2 separate regions of the Homo sapiens genome follow, and region 1 is linked to region 2. The links are contacts of gene promoters, found by promoter capture Hi-C in human tissues and cell types (Jung and others, 2019). All regions are on one chromosome and are shown on one strand. Each heading gives the region's core, a stretch centred on a gene start or on the middle of the fragment in contact. The rest is flanking DNA. Distances are from core to core; before and after follow the strand shown.

Region 1 (6,070 bases), core at 2,700-5,199, 1.6 Mb after region 2:
AGGGAGTCAGCAGAGCAAATTAACTGTGAGAGGAAAAAAAGCTGAGGATATTGGAAAATTCTAATTTACCAGCCTCTTTAAGCTATATTGCTTTTAACATTAAGGATATCAAACTATACCATTAAAATAGGCCTGTACAATGGTAGCCCAAGTGAAGGAATTTACCACTGTTTTCACATTTTATTGGTAAATGAGATACAGCTCTGAAGTATTCAGTCTACTAAAGTATATCTTCTCTCACATAAAGAACAAGAAATAGGAATAAATACACTGTAATTTCTAATAAGTTGCACTTCCAATCCAGCTCAACAAAAAGCCTCAAGTTAAAATAACAGCCACCATTATGCTCAATTAAAGATTCCACAGATTTTATTAATATATCTGTTATAGCTGAACTTTAGGATTCTAAGTAGGAACACAACCTCATTGAAAAACTCTAAATATGGGGCAACTTAGACACTACTTACGCATGGTGGAATCTGATAAAGGATATCTAGAGACATGTTTACAATTCATATAAAGAAAATTAACTTCCCTTGGTTTGCTTAGTGGTTTCATGCACACTGTACTGTTCATTTACTCAGATGTTCTATGAAAGTTCTCATACAATTTGAAAGATGCTTATATTATAGGAAGTACCTGTGGTAATAATGATTATCTTCATCATTATCATCATCACTAACATGTATGTCTTTCCGATCAACCCTGTGAAGGACACTGGTAACTATGGAAGCTTCTCAATATAAAGGACAATTTTATGTCATCATATTTTCCAAAGGCTTGAGTTTTTACTCCCTCCCAAATGATTCTGGCACAGTAGTGAAAAGACCCAGGCCCAAATCTCAGCTTCAGCATCTACTACCTACGAGTTCCTAACCCTCCATTTCATCTGTAAAATGAGAAAAATAACTACCTAACTCAAAAGTTGTGAGAATCAAATGAAAATTCACATAAAGCATTTAACCTAATATCTGGCACAAGAAAAGTATTCAAATGTTATTTTACATTCATAAACAGTTTCAAGTTTTTACACAAAATCAAAAGGAATTTATTGTAAAATAAGGAGAAAAGACTCCTTAGGTTTTTGTTTTTCGTTTTTTTTTTTTTTTTGAGATGGAGTCTCGCTCTGTTACCCAGGCTGGAATGCAATGGCACAGTCTTGGCTCACTGCAACCTCTGCCTCCCGGGTTCAGGCGATTCTCCTGTCTCAGCCTCCCGAGTAGCTGGAATTACAGGCGCCTGCCACCATGCCCAGCTAATTTTCGCATTTTTAGTAGAGACGGGGTTTCACCATGTTGGCCAGGCTGATCTCGAACTCCTGACCTCAGGTGATCCACCCGCCTCGGCCTCCCATAGTGCTGGGATTACAGGCGTGAGGCACCGCATCCGGCCAAGACTCCTTAGGTCTTAGAGCAATCTAAATGATCAATAATGCCCCTTGAATGTGTCAGTATCAATAAGTCTCTGATTACACGCACAGAGAATAAAAAGTGTAACAGGCTTTAGTGAACAAGGGTTCCAGGCAATTTCTATGAAGGCCCAATACCTCACAATAACCTAGTAACAGCAGATACAATGTTCACAGAAAAAACAATAAAATAATTCCACACTGTACTGGTGAAACTTGGCTTAGCAGCAAACACTACTACCAATTGTTATTGATGCCCAGATACTTAGTTTCTGAGGTAGAATGGGGCAAAAAACAAATTGCACTTATGATGACAATCATAAGATAGATTTTATGAATTATAAAATAGATCATAATAGAAAGAACAACTTTGAATTGAACTATAACATACCAATCTTCATCTCTCCAAAGAAAGTATTCTAAAGTTATACTATTTCAATAAACAGATTGGACACATTACTAAAACTTACACTGGGACTCCAAACAGATTTTATCTAAGTTGACACCAAACTTAAAATATCTATTTAAAAAATCCTTTGAAACTGAATTTTCTAGAAAATCAAAAGAATTTCATGAAAGTCCCAGTGGGCATATTTTAACACCAGACAATTCTAAGTATGGGTAGATACTGCAAACAAGAAATTAAGGTAGAAAAATCAGCTGCATATCCTATTAAATTATCCATGAGGTAACTCAGTGTTTCAACGTCTTCAGGGATGATGTTCTCAAAAGTCTCATTTCCTCTAAAGTACTTTCACATGACCCTAATCCATTATTAGTTATAAAAACAAAATTTAACCTTTTTTTAACCTTTTATGCATAAACAATTTCAGACTTACAGAAAAGTTGCAAGACCACTACAAAGATCATATTTCTCCTGAAACATTTGTTGTAATCATGCATTATCATCCCCAAATATTCTACTTTGTATTCGCTATGAATAATGGTATTTTCCAAAATAATCCCAACCTAATAAAAATTTAAAAATTAACACTGATATATTACTACAATGGAACCCTCGGATCCCCTTCAAATATCACTAACTGGCCCATTAATGTCCTTAGAGCAAAAAGATCCAATCTAGGATCATACATTGCATTTAGTTTTAAGTCTCTTCCAACTGGAGCAGCTCTTCACTCTTTCCTTGTCTTTCATGATCTTGATGCATTTGAAGATTACAGGCCAGTTATTTTGCAGACTGTGCTCTAACTTGGGTTTGTCTCATGTATTGTTATGACTGAATTTAAGTTCTACATCTTTGGTAAGAAGTACTTCAGGAGTCTTCTTGCATTTTAGAGTCTTCTTGCATATGGTTTTGATTTGACCATTACTGATAATATTAACTCTGACCACTTGCTTAAAGTGATGATTGCCAGGCTTCATCCACTGTAAAGTTACTCTTTTCCCTCTTTTAATTAGTACATATTTTCTGTGAACATATTTTGCGTGATGACATAAACATCCCTTTTTGCATCATGGTTTTATTCCCTTATTTATATAATTACCAATGTATGGATTCCTATTTCATTCAATGAGTTACAATTTGTTACTGTCATTATTTTGGGGCCCAAATTGTCCCCAGCCTGGCCAGTTGGAGCCTCCTTCAGAGGGTTTCTGTGACCTGCTGACATCTCCTCATCATCTTTCAAGCACTCCCTTCCTTTCTACACCCACAGGCTCATCCTGTCCTTTCCCTGCTCCAGCTATGGAATCTACCATATCTCCAAAGAATCCTGGAAGAGCCTCTCCTGAGACAAAATCATGTGAGCTCCTTTTTCATTTCTTCAATCTTCCTAACTCTAGCTTTATGGTTTCATTTCAATAGTGAACACAGTATATCTTCTCCAGGATGTGAAAGAAAAATGTACTACTACTACTTATGTACTCATCTTAAAGGGCAGTCAGGGCTGGGCATGGTGGCTCATGCCTATAATTCCAGCACTTTGGGAGGCCGAGGCGGGCGGATCATGAGGTCAGGAGATCGAGACCATCCTGGCTAACATGGGGAAACCCCGTCTCTACTAAAAATACAAAAAATAAGCCAGGCATGGTGGCGGGCGCCTGTAGCCCCAGCTACTCGGGAGGCAGAGGTGGGAGAACCACCTTGCAGTGAGCCGAGATCGTGCCACTGCACTCTAGCCTGGGCGACACAGCGAGACTCCATCTCAAAAAAAAAAAAAAAGGTGGGGGGGAAGTCTCCAAGGTAAGGAAATGATTTAAAATCGTACAAGCTTAAAACTGGCAAAAATATGAATGCATCAACATTTTAACACTCTATACAATATTCTGTAACAGGCTGAAACTGTAGTAAAAATTTGATTGCCTCCCTTTCTCCAAATCCAATCAACCAACACACTATGTTCTAATTGAACAGGCTATACTAGAAACTTTGATCCTTATAATACATTAATAACTTAAATTTGGAAAGTTTTCTGGCTGAAGTATCCATGACCCTATTCCCAAGTGTCAGACCAAAGATAAACAGTAACGAAAAGGCACTCTCCAGACTCTTTTCCAACTAATGAACAAAGTCATGGCTCATCTCCTTGAGGGTGACTGATGCAGCTGAGTTACTGGCAAAACCCTTGCTTCCAAGGACATTATTTGGTACATTAACACCATTATAATTTTATATGTACAAAAGTAGTAAATCATTTCAAGGGAGTTATATGACTGCTTTCTCAGGAAAACCAGCAGTAGAACATAGAACTTGGCTTGACAGTGTACATATCTGAGTTAGTAATCCACTTCCTTTAAATAATCAAATTGGGAGCGGAGAGTAATGGGGTTGCAAAGCCTCTACTAAAAACATAAGAAAAGATACTTATGATTTTCCAATCACTTAAAAATGTGTTATGCTGGTAAAATTCATTGAATTGTTTCACTGTCTTGATAATTATATCACGAGGGATATAAAAGAAATATATTTGTATACACTGTGACAATGATATACCACTTCCTGTAACGGTACTAATTTAGCATGAAATTATGAACCAGGGACTTGCAAATGTTTGCGGAAGTAATTCTAACAATCCTGAGAAATAACCACTATAATAGTCATTTTACAAATAAAGAAGCTAAGGCTCTGGGAGATTCCCTGCCGAAGATGACACAGCTAGTAGTAAATGGCAATTCAGATTTGAGCACTAATCTTCTACGTTAGCACAAACTTAACTACATTGCCAAGGTGGCATGAGAAAAACCAAAAGTGACAGAAAATGAAAATAAAAGTTAAAATGAGATATGTCTCGAAAGAAGAATATTTAAAGGAAGAAAGAAAAGGAAAGGAGAAAGCAATGCAGAACTTAGATTATTACTAGAGGGAGAGAATGGGGCCGCAAGCGCTGATGGCAAGGGGTGAGCATGCTGCGCAGGCACAGGGTGTAACACAGAAGAGCCCTGCCTGGCTTCTTCAGGATAACCCTATGGATTGTACTGTAATCCTACAACTCAGCTTAGAAGGCACTTTTAAATTTGCAGAACTTCTTTCTAATTTATTAACGATATCTGCTTTTTTTCCTTTTAGATATCAGAAAACTAATAAGACAGGAAATTTAAGTACACGTTGAAAGAAAAAGATACTTTGTTACACGAAGCTGAAGTCAGTGAAACTTGTAACAAGGCAGGCTCAAACAGAGGTACCAACTACAGGTATTTTATTTTTATTTAATAACAATAATGTTTCACTGATTTCCTTGAGTTCTCAAAGATCTAAGTAAATTTTAGTATGCAATCCTATCTTAAAGCTAGGAACCTACAAGAAACAACCAAATATCAACCCCAAACAGTGACAAAGTGATTATTAGTAGGGCCAAGCTAGGGGGGTGGGAAGGGGAAGCCATGGTAGCCTACTGCAGGTGTTAATGCCTGACCTGGGTTACAATGGGTTCACATGGGGCTGTTGGTAGCCTGGTCCAGTACTGAGGAGAGTATCTGTGCAGGAGGGTGGCCTGGTGCAGGCTGGCGAAGCACAGGCAGGGTAAAGAGGGTATCTCCACAAAGGCATGGTCTGGCTTCAGGTGAGGAAGGAATCTGTCTGGGGTCGGGCAGAGGCTAGCGGGTGGGAAGGATGAGATGGAGAGGCACCTGGCACAAAGCGTCAGAGCAGAGCTCAGTAAAAGGGACTCCATGACGAAGAGCAACCTGGCACGGATGTCAGAGCCCAGACAAGGTAAAAGAAGTGTCAATGCTGGGTGCGGCGCCATGTGGTGGCCTGGTGTGTAGTGTTGAGTCCGAGCTGGGGAAAAAGAACATTTCTGCAATGGAAAAGGACATATCTTCATTCAAGTTGGGTTACGTATAGGAGGACTGACCAAAATATGAAAATATATTAAGGATACTAGAAGCCCGTTTTCTATCAGGAAAGCAAGTGACAAATATCGAAAGGGAGAACACTAGAACAAACCTTGTAATGCTGGATTAAAATGGGAAGTATCAGCATCAACTCACAGTTTTTAATAAATAAATATACACATGATTTAGGAATACAGATGTCAGTGTGTGTATATTCACCTGCACACACACAAACATTCACAACACTTAGTTCCTAGCTCTTTCCACTGAGAAACCAGGGAACAGTGATATTCCAATAACAGCATATATAATTTCTAGGTCTCCATTTCTAAACACCATTCTTCAAAAAAAGGAAGCTGGGTCAGGTAT
Region 2 (6,002 bases), core at 2,414-4,913:
AAGAATTGTAAATATACTTAAGTAATTTGTATGCCAAAAAATTACAATAAGTCAATAAAGATCTCACCTCTGGCTTAGTTCTTTCATGGTGATTTACATTTTCTTGTGAAATACACTGTGAACATATCTGTCAACAGCAGTTATTTTTAAGGTACTATTATTTTTAAGGTATTTCTTCCCAGCCCTTTCAAATCCACATTCATCCTATTTGCTGATTACTTCAATCAAGAAATCCATTTGGATCTTTTAAGTATATAATTCTCTTTGTTCACAGAGCTGTTATAGCCCCTAATTCATTGGCAAAAAGATAAAAGGTTTTTTTTGGGGGGTGGGGGGAGGGGCTTGCTCTAAGTTTTTTCCATTATGATTGACATTAATGTTCCTAATCTATGCAGCACATTCCCATTTTATCCTTTTAGTAAACAGACACACACACGTTTGTCAGTGAATTGGGACTGAAGGAATGGAAGGTTGAAAAAACCAAACTGGAAGTGTATCACCTGCATTTGCTTTAAAAAAAAAAAAGCTAATTGAAAGCAGACACATAAACTTTTCAATATAACTTGCTTTATTCAGCTTCATTTCATTTTCAGAATAGTTCTGTGGAGAACCCACATCAATAGTCTATAAATATTTTAAGTGAAAACAGTTTAATTTTTCAATTATTGCAAACACAAAGCTTTTTGCTTGTGGAGAAATGTTAAGAAGAAGCAAGAGAATCATCCACAATTCCATTATCTTGTGCTGTCCAAAATGGAACTCACTAGCTACATGTGGCTACTTAATTGGAATTAGACAAAGAGTTCATTTCCTCAGTCGTACTGCTACATTTTAAGAACTTTATAGCCCCATGTGGCTAGTGACTATTGTTTTGAACAGGGGAGATTGTAGAATATATACATTGTCACAGGAAGTTCTACTGGATAGCACTGAGGGAGATACTGTTACTTTTTTGTGTATACCCTTCTAGACCTTTGGGTGTGTGTATTCATACATTTATATAATGGGATCATACAGTTACCCACTTCTTTCACTTAATAGATGGGGAGAACTTTATGGGAAATTTCAAGCATGTACAGGTAGAGAAAATCAATAGCTATAAGCTCATGGCTTATATTTGTTCTCCTACCCATTTTTCCCCTTTCCTGGACTTTTTGGAACCAGATCCTAGACCTTTCACCAGCAAATCATTCCGTATGTACATCTAAAAGTTGAGGACTTTAAAAAATCGTAACACTTCTTAAACTGTAAAACTACATAATCAATATTCAAATTGGTTTCTCAAATACGATTTTTAAAATAGATCGTGCAAATCAGAATTCACATAAGTTCCATACGTTGCAGTTGGTGAATATGTTTCTTAGTCTCTGTAGGTTTTTTTTTCCATTTGTTACCATTACTATTTTTTTTTTGGAATTGGGGTCTCGCACTGTCATCCAGGCTGGAGTCCTGTGGCGATCGTAGCTCACTGCAGCCTTGGACCCCTGAGCTCAAGTGATCCTCCCACCTCAGTCTCCCACATAGCTTGGAGTACGGGTATGAGCCACCTCACCCATTTGTTAGTTTTTTAAATTTCCACCTGCAGTTTGTTGAAAACATCACTTTTAATGACTGCATTATTTTAGCTTTAACCACTTTATTGATGACCATTTGATTCTGATTTTTTGCCATCATGAACCTAGCTTTGCTTTATTTTTATGTTTGTTTTTTGAGACAGGGTCTCGCTCTCTTTCGCCAGGCTAGAGTACAGAGGCACAATCTCGGCTCACTGCATCCTCTGCCTCCTAGGTTCAAGCGATTCTCTTGCCTCAGCCTCTCGAGTAGCTGGAATTGCAGGTGTCCGCCACCACACTGCCTACTTTTTTTTTTTTTTTGAGACAGGGTTTTGCTCTTGTCGCCCAGGCTGGAGTGCAGTGTTATGATCTCGGCTCACTGCATCCTCTGCCTCCTAGGTTCAAGCGATTCTCTTGCCTCAGCCTCTCGAGTAGCTGGAATTGCAGGTGTCCGCCACCACACTGCCTACTTTTTTTTTTTTTTTGAGACAGAGTTTTGCTCTTGTCGCCCAGGCTGGAGTGCAGTGTTATGATCTCGGCTCACTGCAACCTCCACCTCCCAGGTTCAAGCGATTCTTCTGCCTCAGCCTCCTGAGTAGCTGGGATTACAGGCGCCCGCCACCATGTCTGGCTAATTTTTTGTATTTTTAGTAGAGACGGGGTTTCGCCATGTTGGGCAGGCTGGTCTCGAACTCCTGGCCTAAGGTGATCTGCCCTCCTCGGCCTCCCAAAGTGCTAGGATTACAGGCGTGAGCCACCATTCCCGGCCTAAGCCACCATGCTTGGCCTTGCTTTATTCTTATGGTTAAATATTTTGAACATTCTTAAATTATTAGGAAGATTTTCTAGAAATAAAAATGCTGTTTCAATGGTTGAGTATATTTTTGAGACTCATCCAATGTGGTAGGCACCGTGTTAGGTACTGGGTATATTGTGGTTAATAAAAAACAAATGTATATTCTGTTCTCTTGGAGTCACGTGTTCTTGCAATGAAGAAAGATGAGACTAGGGTAGTACATATATTTAGGTGGCCCTCACAGAATTATTGAGGATGGCACTTAGCCCAGACACTGGATAGGAGGTATTTAGAGATCATTTGTGTAGGTAGTGACATGTAAGCCAAGGTCTGAAGCAGAGAGGTTGGATAATCCATGCAACCTTACAATGTGGAAATAACAGGAAAAACCGTTTACCTAATCTCTGGTCAGAAATCAGAGAACTTGGCCAAAGAACTGAAGGGTTACTGTACTTACTCAAGTTCTTTGTCTATTTAGACAGCATGCACAGCACTTGCACGTGTTTACTTAAAAACTACTGGTATAGCCTCAATTCTTAGAAGACTGAAGTTAGTACGTTTTTATCTAGTTAGCAGTGTGCAACTGCCTAGGGTCAAAATTGCTACTGGCTAGCTGTGTGACTTTGGGCACGTGACCTCGGCGTGCAAAACTCCCTGGTACCCTCAAGGAGGCTCTTGATAAAGTGTTAAAAGTCTGTTTATAAAACAAAAGTGGATGAATGTCGCCCTCCAGGGCTTTGCGGTGCTGGGGCTCGGGGAGCAGCCTCGCAGGTTCGTGCGGGCGGCGGGGGCCCCCTGCTGGCCACATCCTCCAGCCTCCCTCCGCTCGGCCTCCGGCGCGACGTGCGGCCCGGGCCATTTCCTCCCAGGGCGGGGGAAAAGGGAGGAGCTGCCGGTTTAAATTGCCTAGCTGCAGCTCGTGTGCAGGGAGAGGCCGAGACGGCTTAAAGCCTCCAAGAAATTGAGGGAAAAAAGGTGCAGAGATTAAAGTTTTACCTCTTGGTGCCTCCAGCTTCGCTTTTGGCTAACCTAAGTTCCTCTGTTCGGGCGCCTCCATTCCCTTCAACACTCAGCTTGGATATCCTCTGGGGCTCGCCGCGTAGGGCGCCATTTCTCAGCCGGGACAGCGGGCCAGCCCTCAGCACGCTGGAGTCCGGAATCCCCCCCTCCCAACGCCGGGCGCCGGATCCCACCCTAACCCCTCCTCTAATACCCTTGGAACCTAGGACCCAGCGGTTTCGGCACGCCCGGCCCCGCCCCTCCGCGCACCGGCGCCCGCGATTGGCTCCAGGCGGCGCGGCCCCGCCCCTTTCATGGCCGCCGCCTGGCGCCGGGGCTAAGTGGCCGCCGGCGTCCGGGTACCCGAGGGCTCTCCCGCGTTGCTGGCACCGCTGGCGCCGCGGTCTCGTAGCGCATGGGCCTCCTCCGAGGCGGGCTCCCATGCGCTCGGGCCATGGCGCGCCTGGGCGCTGTGCGCTCCCACTACTGCGCCCTGCTGCTGGCCGCGGCGCTGGCCGTCTGCGCCTTCTACTACCTCGGCTCAGGCCGGGAGACCTTCTCCAGCGCCACCAAGAGGCTGAAGGAGGCCCGCGCCGGGGCTCCCGCCGCGCCCTCGCCGCCCGCGCTGGAGCTAGCGCGGGGCTCCGTGGCGCCAGCCCCCGGCGCGAAGGCCAAGAGCTTGGAGGGCGGCGGTGCCGGGCCGGTGGACTACCACCTGCTGATGATGTTCACCAAGGCGGAGCACAATGCCGCGCTGCAGGCCAAGGCCCGCGTCGCGCTGCGCTCACTGCTGCGCCTCGCCAAGTTCGAGGCGCACGAGGTGCTTAACCTTCACTTCGTGAGCGAGGAGGCCAGCCGCGAGGTGGCCAAGGGCCTGCTGCGGGAGCTCCTGCCGCCCGCCGCTGGCTTCAAGTGCAAGGTGAGCGGGCCGCGGCTGGGGGCTCCCGGTGGGTGGCCCACCCCATCCTAGGCGAGGTCAGTTTGCGCTCCCGGAGGGGATCCGGGGAACTAGCGGGTAGGATCTTCCCTGAGCTGCCCGCTTGCAATGTAGTGTTCACAACCTGCGGGAGGGCTCGTTCGGGGGCGTGTCCGGGAGCCAGACGCCCTCAGCTGGTGCTGAGGAGTGGAGCTGCGTTTTTAATGACCGCCTCGTTTTCCTCTCCCCCAGTTAAGCGCAGCCCCCAGGAGAGTCCGCGCGCCCCCATTTTGCTAACGTTGCAGGGTTCAGCACTGCCTTCAGAGTCTGCACCTCTGTTTATGTTCCTCAGTTTTTGACTTCTGAGGATGGGACTGGTCACCAGTAGTCATCCTGAGCAACTGGAGAGGGCCTTGGTGAGGCCTCTGGAAGTGTTGAAGTTGCAGTGACACTTCTCATTGCTCTTAAGGTATTTCAGTAGGATCTGGTCAAACTCATTGTGAACCATCTTATCTCCTCTCTGTGTCCCTTTTTCCCCTTCCTCCAAGGGTCATGAACCCATTTAGAGAAGCCTGGAGTTCCTCCGAATGAGGAAGAGAAAGCTCAAGAGGAACAGATATGATCTGGGGAGAGCACAGCTGGCCGCCTTGTCCCAGGCTGGACCAGTCTGCCTCCATGACAGCTTCCATCTCTGTTTATCATCTGTCTTCACTGCCTGGCTCTCCTTGTCTGAGATGTGTTTCTGACATAGTGTGAATTGCCTAGGTCAAATTGCTTATTTGATTTTGACCTAATAGTTGTACAGAGGGGATCCGAGGCCAGATTTTAAGGAGTAGTAGGTAATATTAAAGGGTGGAGACTGATGTTGGTTGGGGAAGCATGCTGAGACAGGAGTTGTATTATGTGAGTGACTAGGGGAGCTGTTGCCAGGATCCTACAGGCTTCGGGAGTCTCTGATAGCTCCTTGTTGCCTACGGGGTGAAGTCCCAGTTTATTGGTAGGGCTGTTGTGTTGTGAGCCTGGTCCACTTCTCTGGCTTCACCTCTCCTCCTTTGTCTACATGCACCTCATACCTTAGCTATGTAGGGAGTGGGCCTTATACATGCTGTACTGTCTGCCCACAGTGTCCTCTTGGGCCCTTGGCCATTCTTTACTCAGCTTTCACCTCTCCTGAGAAAGTCCCTAGACCCTGGGACCTCTGAAGGTCCTCGCTGGAGGAGGAGCCTGGCAACCTGTCCCAGGTGATCCTAATGACCCTAATATTTGAGAAACTTTGCACTAGTTCACGGTAGAAAACTGAGGGCCCTTGGCCATAGGGTCAGTCTGGGCAGATCTTGGGATTTGACCAGGTCTCCAAACACCGCCTTGAAGATAGCATTGTCATCTCTTCTGGGCCTACTCTGCACCGTTGCCGGATCTCTGTCCCCTTGTCCCCAGCTCCCGCTGCAGCGCTAGCTGCACAGCCAGTGCTTTCCAGCCTACTTGCCTTTGCTTTTGTCATTCCCACTGTTGGGGTGCTCCTTCTCTCCATCTCCAAGTCTTGCCCATCTTCAGATACCATCCCCTCCTTGGAGCCAAGGAAGCGTCCCTTCTTTCCTTTTCTACTTCCCTGGTGCTGTGACTGTATCATGTCTTATCATCCATCCCTATGTACAATGCCTGGCACTCTTAGTTGGCACCAGAAATATTGGCCCAGGGGTAGATCCAGCCTCAGGGCCGAGCCCCTCCTGTCTTGGAG

What was found. Contacts are between HindIII fragments. The study calls those that stand out against the background at their distance.
Region 1: a fragment that was not itself captured here is called in contact with the fragment with the promoter of XXYLT1 in region 2 in 1 of the 25 tissues and cell types used here (dorsolateral prefrontal cortex).

What each region holds. Positions count from the first base shown.
Region 1 is chr3:193,667,909-193,673,978 of GRCh38, reverse strand. All of the region lies in intron 29 of OPA1 (OPA1 mitochondrial dynamin like GTPase), which reads right to left. It overlaps LOC102724808 (a long non-coding RNA gene), which reads left to right. Exons shown (of 5, transcript XR_924835.3): 3 at 3,085-3,171; 4 at 4,935-5,059. Among named protein-coding and RNA genes, the nearest start is that of OPA1-AS1, 44 kb to the right of the region's middle. The HindIII fragment of the contact is 3,525 bases long and covers 2,187-5,711 here.
Region 2 is chr3:195,268,820-195,274,821 of GRCh38, reverse strand. XXYLT1 (xyloside xylosyltransferase 1) reads left to right here and starts at 3,663. Exons shown (of 4, transcript NM_152531.5): 1 at 3,663-4,267. The coding sequence starts at 3,764. ACAP2 (ArfGAP with coiled-coil, ankyrin repeat and PH domains 2) reads left to right here. Exons shown (of 23, transcript NM_012287.6): 23 at 1-77. RefSeq lists silencers at 3,033-3,262, 3,513-4,042, 4,203-4,382 and an enhancer at 3,633-4,424. The HindIII fragment of the contact is 18,362 bases long and covers 180-6,002 here.